2 separate regions of the Homo sapiens genome follow, and region 1 is linked to region 2. The links are contacts of gene promoters, found by promoter capture Hi-C in blood cells and fetal thymus (Javierre and others, 2016). All regions are on one chromosome and are shown on one strand. The core of a region is centred on a gene start or on the middle of the fragment in contact, and the rest is flanking DNA. Distances in the headings are between cores, read along the strand shown.

Evidence for each region. The method cuts DNA at HindIII sites, captures the fragments that hold promoters and counts their contacts. A CHiCAGO score of 5 or more calls a contact.
Region 1: the fragment with the promoter of MTFR1L here is called in contact with the fragment with the promoter of SLC30A2 in region 2 in 1 of 17 cell types (neutrophils); the score reaches 7.6 in neutrophils.

Annotation. Positions count from the first base shown.
Region 1 is chr1:25,818,501-25,822,829 of GRCh38, forward strand. MTFR1L (mitochondrial fission regulator 1 like) reads left to right here and starts at 1,454. Exons shown (of 7, transcript NM_001099625.2): 1 at 1,454-1,529. LOC646471 (a long non-coding RNA gene) reads right to left here. Exons shown (of 1, transcript NR_024498.1): 1 at 1,454-4,329. RefSeq lists silencers at 1,240-1,429, 1,880-2,049 and enhancers at 1,640-1,779, 2,160-2,249. The HindIII fragment of the contact is 17,718 bases long and covers 1-4,329 here.
Region 2 is chr1:26,043,982-26,048,540 of GRCh38, forward strand. SLC30A2 (solute carrier family 30 member 2) reads right to left here and starts at 2,137. Exons shown (of 8, transcript NM_001004434.3): 1 at 1,866-2,137; 2 at 1,016-1,236; 3 at 317-463. The coding sequence starts at 1,915. It overlaps LOC105376910 (a long non-coding RNA gene), which reads left to right and starts at 4,277. Exons shown (of 2, transcript XR_001737948.2): 1 at 4,277-4,559. RefSeq lists an enhancer at 1,168-1,736. The HindIII fragment of the contact is 10,541 bases long and covers 49-4,559 here.

The sequences.
Region 1 (4,329 bases), core at 204-2,703, 230 kb before region 2:
TTGTTTGTTTTGTTTGTTTGGTGGGGCTGGGGGGGAGTGTACTTCCAGAAAAACCAGTAAAAGAAGGAAGGAAGCAGAAGAGGGAAAGGAAAAATGCTGAGCAGGAACAGTCTCAGCCCAGCCTTGGCCTGACCCACAGTGGAAGAGCTGTGGGGCATAAACCACACTGCAGAGCTGAACTGGCCTTTTGGACCTTTTATCAGTCATTGGCTTGGGAGGTGAAGGAAATTCCCAGGTAGGGAGCTCCGTTCTTCCTGCAAGGGGATCTGAGTGGGACACCAAATCAGCATCTACACCCAGGACAGACAGCCAGCGTGGACTTGCATGATCCGCCATCGCACAGGAGGGAAAGGTAATGATTAAAACACAATGTGCCATCCTGGGAAGAGGGCCAGACCTGGAAGTCAATCTTCAGCGTTTGAGATATGGTGGAGATCAGGGTGGACGACCTCTGAGGTCTCTAGCCAGGACCAGTCACATAATTTGCACAGCCCCGTGCAAAATGAAAACACAAGAACCCCTATTAGAAAATCATTTCAAGACGGCAACAGCAAAGTACTAAACCAAGTACAGGATTCTGAGCATGCGGCCCGTTGTGACTGCATGGGCTGTTCACCCATGAAACCAGCTCTGTCTCTGGCAGAGGGGACTGCAGGCTTTGGAACCAAGGAACTCCAGCCTGGGAGCCAGGCACAGCCCGAGGCTGTGCTGAAGGCAGAGAAGGAAATGTGACCCAGGAACTGCATGCCACAGACCAAGACAGTGAGGGCTGGAGCACAAAGAGGGAGTGGGTTAGTGAGCCTGGAAGGAATGTGGCTCTTCCCACAGAGCCTCTGGAGTCTTGTACATCAAGTACCCATCTAATAAGCAAACTCATTGAATATACCGTGTGTGTGTGTGTGTGTGTGTGTGTGTGTGTGTGTGTGTGTGAGAGAGAGAGAGAGAGGCTAAAATAGAAGAAAGCTGCAAAGTGCTGGAGGGCAGGAGTCAAGAGGAGAAAGAGGCCCATTCTGCGCATTCTTGCTGGAGAGAGGCTTTGCAAAGGGACCTGCCTGGGAACCAAGAACTGGGAAGGGGGCCAGGGTGAGGATTCTGAAGTTTGCCCTAGGGGTAGGAGCATATTTTAGGGGTCGAGCGACACACCCCTGGGCTTCCAGAAGTCGGATGGGGCTAAACGTGGAGAGCAACAAGCAGGGAGACGCGACGAATACCAGGCCGAGGGATCTCCAAACGCAGCCAACTCCTCCCGGGGACACAGACCCCGCGGGGGCACGGTCTCGATGGAGGGGAGTGTGCTCCGCGGTATCGGAGCCTACAGCCGCCAGCGCCTCGCCCACTCGGGGGCCGCGCTCCCCTCGCCACCGAGCTGGACCCGCCTCCTGAGGGTGCGCGGAGGTGCGCCTCGGTGCGCAGCTGCGGAGGATCGCTTCCGGGGGGCGGGTCAGCGGAAGTGAGGGCGGTTGAGGCTGGGCGGCCCAAGGTGGAAGGAGGGGCCGTGAGGTGAGAGAGTCCGGGAGCCCGAGCTTGAGGTGAGAAAGGTTCTAGGGAGGCGCGGAGGCGGGAGCGCGACCTTCCAGCCCGTTAGTAGACTGGGTCTACGTGCCGGGCGCTGTGCGGAGCCCGCAGCTCCTGTTCCCGCGCGAGTTCTCGCGGGAGCCGCAGCTGTCCGTCTCACTTGGCCCGGGGGAAACTGAGTCCCCGAAGGGTAGTTGCTCGTCGGAGTTCCCCAGCAAACAGTGACCAAGCCAGACCTCAGGCTTCTAGTTTCGGCTTCGCTGCTTGACGGGCCGGGCTGCCCCGCCGCGCATTCTGAGACCTGGCCGCGGCTCGGAGGCTTCCGCGCACTCGGGTCCGGGTCCTGTGGGTCCAAGGGCCGCTGGGCAGGCGGCGAGCACTTGGCCGACCTTGGCCCAGGTCGGGTCGTCTGCCGCGGGGGAGGGGCGACTCGCCCTGGCGGGTCCCCGCGGGGAGAGGGTCCGCGCGGGTCTCCGGCCACTGCTGCGCGCGGCAAAGTTTCACTGAGCGCGGCGGCCTCCGTGGGGGCCCCCGGGACCAGGGGTGCTGAGCAGGGCCCTGCGCTGGAGGAGCTCCCGTTCTCCTGAGGGGACGCCTGTCAGCAGACAGCAACTGCAGCCTCCGGAGGGCTGCGGGGCGCAGAGGTGACAAGACCCACCGGTGCTGCCGGCGAACCGGGGGAAGATCTTCTAGCCAGTGACACTTGGGGGCGGGGGTGACAGCTGAGTTGGTGTTCCCCTTCATTCGTTTAGTTCAGCGCGTTGAAGCGCTCACTGTGTCCTAGGCAGACACCGTGCTGTGCGCGGGGATCACAGTTATCTAGTTCCTCTCGCGAGGACTCCGAGGGACAGGCAGGGTGCTGCGGAGCGCACAGGAAAGGACCTGACCCTGTCGCAGGGAAGGAAGGTGATGCTTAAGCTGAGCTCTGAGGAATGATGAAGAATGAGCTCGGCGAAGGGGGTGCTGGTGTTTGATGCAGGGCTCAGAGGTGGGCCCAGTGTTGGGGGTTGAGGGCCAGTGTGGCTGGAGGGCAAGGGGGAGAGCAGGAGGGCTGGCTGCGAAGCGTGCAGGCCTTGGTGCTCAGTGAATGTGGTCTAGAGACGGCAGAGAAAGATGGGTTTGGGACTGATTGTGGATTTTATCCTGTGTTGGCTCTAGTAAGCCAGTTTTAAACGGATGAGCGATGTGATTAACTGTGTTTGGGAAGGATTCCTCTGGCTGTGTGTGAGGGTTAGGCCCGGCTGGGTCTTTGGAGGTAAGGTCGGAGAGGAAGTGGCAGTAAGCACCGTTAGTGCAATTTGTGGCCGACACGGACATTCAGCACAGAGCCTGGCACACAGAGGGACTCTGATAATAAAGGCTTGAACTGAGCCGAGAAGATGGAGCCCACGCAGGAGGTGGCAGGACCTGGACCAGGCTTTGGGTGCTTTGCACTGGCATGACCACTGAGTGACCTTAGACAAGTGCCTTCCCCTGTCCAACTTCCTTTCCCCATGTGTATCGTGAAGTGAATGACACCTCGTCTCCCAAGGGTAGAAGAGGGGACCCTCCACAGGAGGTCTCCAGAAAGAGCTGCTTTGTCAGTCTAGTCTATCTCCCATTCAGAGCCTGTCCAGGGCTCCCCAGTGACCCGGACCTCATGACTTGCCCCCTACTTTTGTAGCTTTATCATGCTCTGCTCCTCTTTCCATGTCCTTCACCTTCTTGTGCTGGACCTGTGCTCTTGCTGTTTTGTCTTCATTTCCTACTCCCTCGCAACTTACTACAGGGCACTAGGGCCAGAGCTCTGACCTCATCTGGCCACCTGCCTAATGCTACTCAGCCTTTGCTAGAAGTATGTATTCATGTCCTATCACTCTGCTGGACAGCGAGTTCCTTGAGAGCATGACTGTGTCTTACTCCTTCCATAGCCCCTACGGTGCCCAGCACAAGGCCTGGCACAAGTGGGTACTGTTGGTGTTTGATGAACAAGTGAATGAACGAGCACACTGATTGCATCTGCTCACCATGCAAGGACTGCTGTGAAGAGCAGTCAGATGTCACCTCACCCATCTGTGTCATGTTTTAACAGTTCATTAAGCACTCAACCCCATTTCACTCATTGACCCTTAAGGTAGCCTCCAGTGGCAGCTTTTCCTGTCTCCTTTTTCCAGATGGAAAAACCAACATTCAGAAAAGTTAAATAACTTGCCTGTAGCTACAAAGCCAGAAGGTGGCTGAGCCAGGATAAACTTTTTTGGCTCTTTTTCTCTGTAGCTCATGAGACTGAGATTGGCATGAGCTGGTGTTCGTTCTCCTATTTTCTCTGATCTCTCCCTTTGCAAGGGCCCAGCAGTGCTTTTACATCTCATCTTCAAGAATGAATCCTGGGCTTGGATAGTACTTATAATTTGGCTAGATGAGCTTTGTAGCTACCAAGGATTCTATTTGCATCTTTAGAAGTTTTGCCTCAAGAAACCTGAGAGCCCAGGAAGGCTCTTGGGTTGGCCAAGCTCACTAGGCAAATCTTTTTTTTTTTTTTTTTTTTTTGAGACGGAGTCTCGCTCTGTCACCCAGGTTGGAGTGCAGTGGCGTGATCTCGGCTCACTGCAAGCTCTGCCTCCTGGGTTCACGCCATTCTCCTGCCTCAGCCTCCCAAGTAGCTGGTACTACAGGTGCCCGCCACCACACCTGGCTAATTTTTTGTATTTTTAGTAGAGACAGGGCTTCACTGTGTTAGCCAGGATGGTCTCGCTCTCCTGACCTCGTGATCCGCCCACCTCGGCCTCCCAAAGTGCTGGGATTACAGATGTGAGCCACTGCGCCTGGCCGCAG
Region 2 (4,559 bases), core at 887-3,386:
ATCCACAGAGTTATGTGCAGTGTTAATGCCATTGTCATTTGTTCTTGAAGCTTGGCTACTGCACTTCTTAGGAAGGTCAACTTTGCTTCCCTGCAGACTGAGAGCTCCTGGATGACTGGGACCAGGGCTCCCCCATCAGACTAGGATTTCCCAGAGGACAGAGGCCATGGTTGACATCCTCTTCCCCCATCCAGATCACCCTCCTGGCCTCACTCAGGGGAGGAAGGGGGGATCCACCCATTACAGCCACCTAAGAACCCCTGTTCTAACCCACCCTCTCTCTCAACCCCATCTCCAGCCAAACCGCGATCCTCACCAGCTCTCTGCCAGCCAAAGTTCATGGTCTTGGTGGCTGGCCGGGAGGACATCCAGAGGGAGAAGAGGCTGATGAGCATGCTGGCAAAGTCAGTGAGCAGGTGTGCTGCGTCAGTCATGACAGCCAAGCTGTGTGCCAGGTACCCACCTGCAGGGTGGAGGGTCCTTATCAGCTCCCCCAGAGAGCTGGCTCCCAAGACTGTGTGTGCAGCAGGGAGACCACAGGCTCTGGAAGAGGACATTCTGGGCTCAAGATCTCTCTACCCATGAGCTGTACCACCGTGACAAGTGACCTACTCTCTCTGAGCCTCAACTTCCACTCTCTGTGAAATGGGCCACCAATATCTACTTAGAGGGTGAATGTGCACATCAAGTTCAAATAGGGACTGGAAAACATAGCAGATACTCAGTAAATGCTCTTCCCTTCTAGGAATTCAGGCCTTCCCTTAGCTACGAGTTGTGCGTGATCTTTGGCAAGTTACTTCACCTGAACATGCCTCAGTTTCATCATCTGTAAAGTAAGGAGAATAACGTCACCCATGTGAGAACACAGGTTGTTGTTAGACCTGCATCAGATAATGTGTATATAAAGGCTTACTGTAGTGTGTGTTCAGTAATTGGGGCTTTTAGTGTCAGTATTGCTGGGAACATCCAGTCTATCCATGCACCAACTTCATTTAATTAGCCCAAAAGTGCTTACCAACGACTTCTCCGATCATGAACAACAGGCAGATGGCAGAGGCTACATACAGCTGGCGCTGGGCCTTCCCCTTCTTGGGGTCACAGTGACTGTCAGGACCCTTCTGAGCATGGCAGTGATGGTTGCTCTGGGCAGCCAGCTCAATGGCCTGCAAGTCCAGGCCAGGTCGGGGCAGAGGAATCCAGCCAGCCCCTTCCTGCCACAGAGATCCCGTGTATGACCTGGCCAGAGGGGAAGAGAGGGAACGCTCAGCTCTGAGATGAGGTAAGGAGGGCCGACTCTAGTCCCATTTCTCTGTGAGGCCTTGTGTCCACTGGGAAAAATAGCTAAGGACGCTCCGAGCTCGACAAACCAGAGGTGAGAAGCCTGTATTCAGACGGGGATGATAGGGGAATGGGAGTCCTGGGGCCCGGGGCCCTTCAGAGGCCAGAGGAGGTGAAGACCCTGGGAACCGGCCAAGGGGCGTGCTGTCCAGTGGAGCGCGGGGAAGGAACAGAGCGCAGGCTCTGGGAGAACAGCAGGCCCCCTCCAGCGCACTTGGGACACAGGGCCTCCCCGGGGCGGGGCTGCCTGGGGCAAAGTGCTGGGCGGGGCGGGACTCCAGGCATGGGAACCGCCAATCCCCCGGCCCCAGGCCCCCCGCGGGCAGGGGTCAGAATCTGGGCTGCGCCCCAAGGGAGAGACGGTCCTTGGGCCACAGCCCATTATCTTCGTTCCCTCACCTCACCCCACCCCTCCTGCATGGTCCCAGCTCAAGCCGCAGCCAAAACCAACCACTGCTAGGATGGCAAATGCGGAGGTGCGTCGGCTGCCGCCAAAATTCCCGCCCGTCCCCAGGCTCTCGCCTTACCGGATTGCCGGCCTGGCGTCCAACAGATGCTGCTTCTCCTTGGCCTCCATGCAGTCCCGCGCCGAGTCCCGGCAGCCGCGCAGCCGCCCCGCCGAGTGCGCCCTGAAAGTTGCGCGCGGGACTCCGGGTGGCGCTCACCCACCTGCCCCGAGGGCCCCGCGAGGTGCGCTCACTCCGGCCCGGCTCCTGCGGCCCCTGAGCTCCCCCGGCTCCCGCTGCGGCTGCAGCTCCGGCTCTGGCTCCGCGTGCCAAGCGCTCCCGTGTCTCGGGTCAGCCGCTGCGCCCCGCGGCCGCCGGCTTTATCCGGCCCTCGCCAACCCGTGTGAAGCTGCCGTCGGCGCGTCGTGTGCAAAAGCCCGCGGGGAAGGGGGGGCGGTCGCCGGCTGCAAAAGGCCCGGCTGTGGCCCCGCACACCTGTGCCTGCGCCCATGGGGCCCGCGGAGCCCACCTGCCGGCCGCGAGAAGTTTGCCAGCCTTCGCCCGGCGCGGCGCCGGGTGTTGCTGAGTGAGGACGGGGTGACGCCTGCGCCCCCTCTCCCGCGCGGGGTGCGCCGCCTCGCCGCCGAAAAGTTCTCGACTTTAGTTTGTAGAAATCCGCTTTGGTGGTCCCGACGGCAGGAATGTGGCTCCTTGCCTCGGAAGAGGGTCTCCAGAGGCTACTGGGGCCGCGTCTGCCCCCTCCGACTGGCGGCTGCCCTGGGCTTGATCATGTTCCCCTCTCAGGCCGGAGACCCCCCGAGGTCGGCTTGCGTTCCTGTCCTCCTGCTAGGAGGGTCCTGGGGTGGGGTGGGCTGCGCCGCCCTCAGGCTGGGGCAGTGTCTCTCCCTAGGACCGGCTGGGACTGATCGACCCATCCTCGCCACTGAAGCAGCGCCAGCTCCTCCTCTCCTGCGCGCAGGAGAATCTGGAGTGGCCGGCTTTGTCTCCACCCGCACAGAGAACAGTGTCATCGGCAGTCACCATCGGAGCAGAGACGACCACTGCCACTGCTGCCACCCCTTCTCCCCTCCCCCGCAGCGGCTCCTGGGAGCCCCAGGAAGCCTGACAAGCAAGCCTGGGAGATGCAGGCCGGAGGTGCCACCGTGTTGGTACCGCTGGGAGAAGCCCTGTCCTTCCTGGCCAGCTTGGTGCCCCACCCACTTGAAGCAGCCTCCTTCCCTGGCGGTTCTTGGGGATTGGGGAGCCTGTGGCCCCCACGCTGGCCTCTGACAGGTGCCCTCTGTGTAGAAAGAAGCTGCTGGAGACCTCCCTGTCTGGTCAATTCGTCTCCCCAGCACCCTTTGTCGCTAGGACCATAGGCTTGGTGGGTATGGCCTTTCACAGAGCCAAGAGTCAGAGGTGCAGGCCTCTTGCCCACACCACTGGGGACAGGAAGGGGCTCTTTCAGTCTCTCATCTTGTAGGAGACGGGGTGCCAGGAGTGAGGATGTGAGGTGCACCCGCTCTGCTTGGGTCCTCACTGAGTGCCTCTCTGCTTCTCTGGACTCTGGTTTTCTTCTGGAAAACCTCAGACACCCTGGTTTTCTCCAGGTCTGTCTACTCTGAGCACCAGCAGGCTCAGCATTACCTGGAGAAGGTGTTACAACGCAGGTTACAGGTCCCTGCATCAGACCAACCGAACCAGAATCTCTGGGTGTGGAGCCTGAATATTTCCAGGATTCAGTAGGTCTGGGGCAGGGCCTGGGAATCTGTATTTATAAAATTCTCTGGTGCTATTGTGGCATCATTGTTCATTTTTATGTATAGTGGTTTTTTTGTTTGTTTGTTTTTGAGACAGAGTTTCATTTCTGTCTCTGTCGCCCAGGCTCGACTGCAATCTCAGCTCACTGCAATCTCTGCTTCCCGGATTCAAGTGATTCTCCTGCCTCAGCTTCCTGAGTAGCTGGGATTACAGGTGCCCACGACCATGCCAAGCTAATTTTTGTATTTTTAGTACAGACAGGGTTTCACCATGTTGGCCAGGCTGGTCCTGAGGTTATGATTTTTTTCAAAGAACACCTTTATCTAAAGTATTTAGGGATAAAATGTCATCTGGGTTTTGCCTTAAAATAATCCCAGTGGGGAGAGTACGGTACTGGTATAGAAGAAATAAATATGTCACCAGCTGTTGAAACTGAGTGATGGGTAAATGGGGTACACTATAACTATTCCCTCTACTTTTCAGTATTTAAAAAATGTTGGCTGGGTGCGGCGGCTCACGCCTATAATCCCAGCACTTTGGGAGGCTGAGGCAGGCGGATCACCTGAGGTCAAGAGTTCGAGACCAGCCTGGTCAACATGGCAAAACCTCGTCTCTACTAAAAATAAGAAAATTAGCCAGGCATGGTGGCAGGCGCCTGTAATCCCAGCTACTCAGAATTCTGAGGCAGGAGAATCACTTGAACCCGGGAGGTAGAGGTTGCAGTGAGCCGAGATCATGCCATTGCACTCCAGCGTGGGCAATCAAGAGTGAAACTCTGTCTAAAAAAAAAAAAAAAAAAAGTTTCAGAATTAAAGACTTGGGGAAAAATAAACCTTTCCTGGCAATTCTGATGTAGCAGCCCATGGAGCTGTATTCAAGATTCATTGAAAGAACCCCCTTGAAGCCAGCTGTCCTCTCTTGCAGCATGATTTTAAAGGAAGCATGTTGATCAAGAACCCTTCATACCATCTTAAGGGTTCTAGTTTGCAAGTACAGGAAGAGCCCTTCCTATGG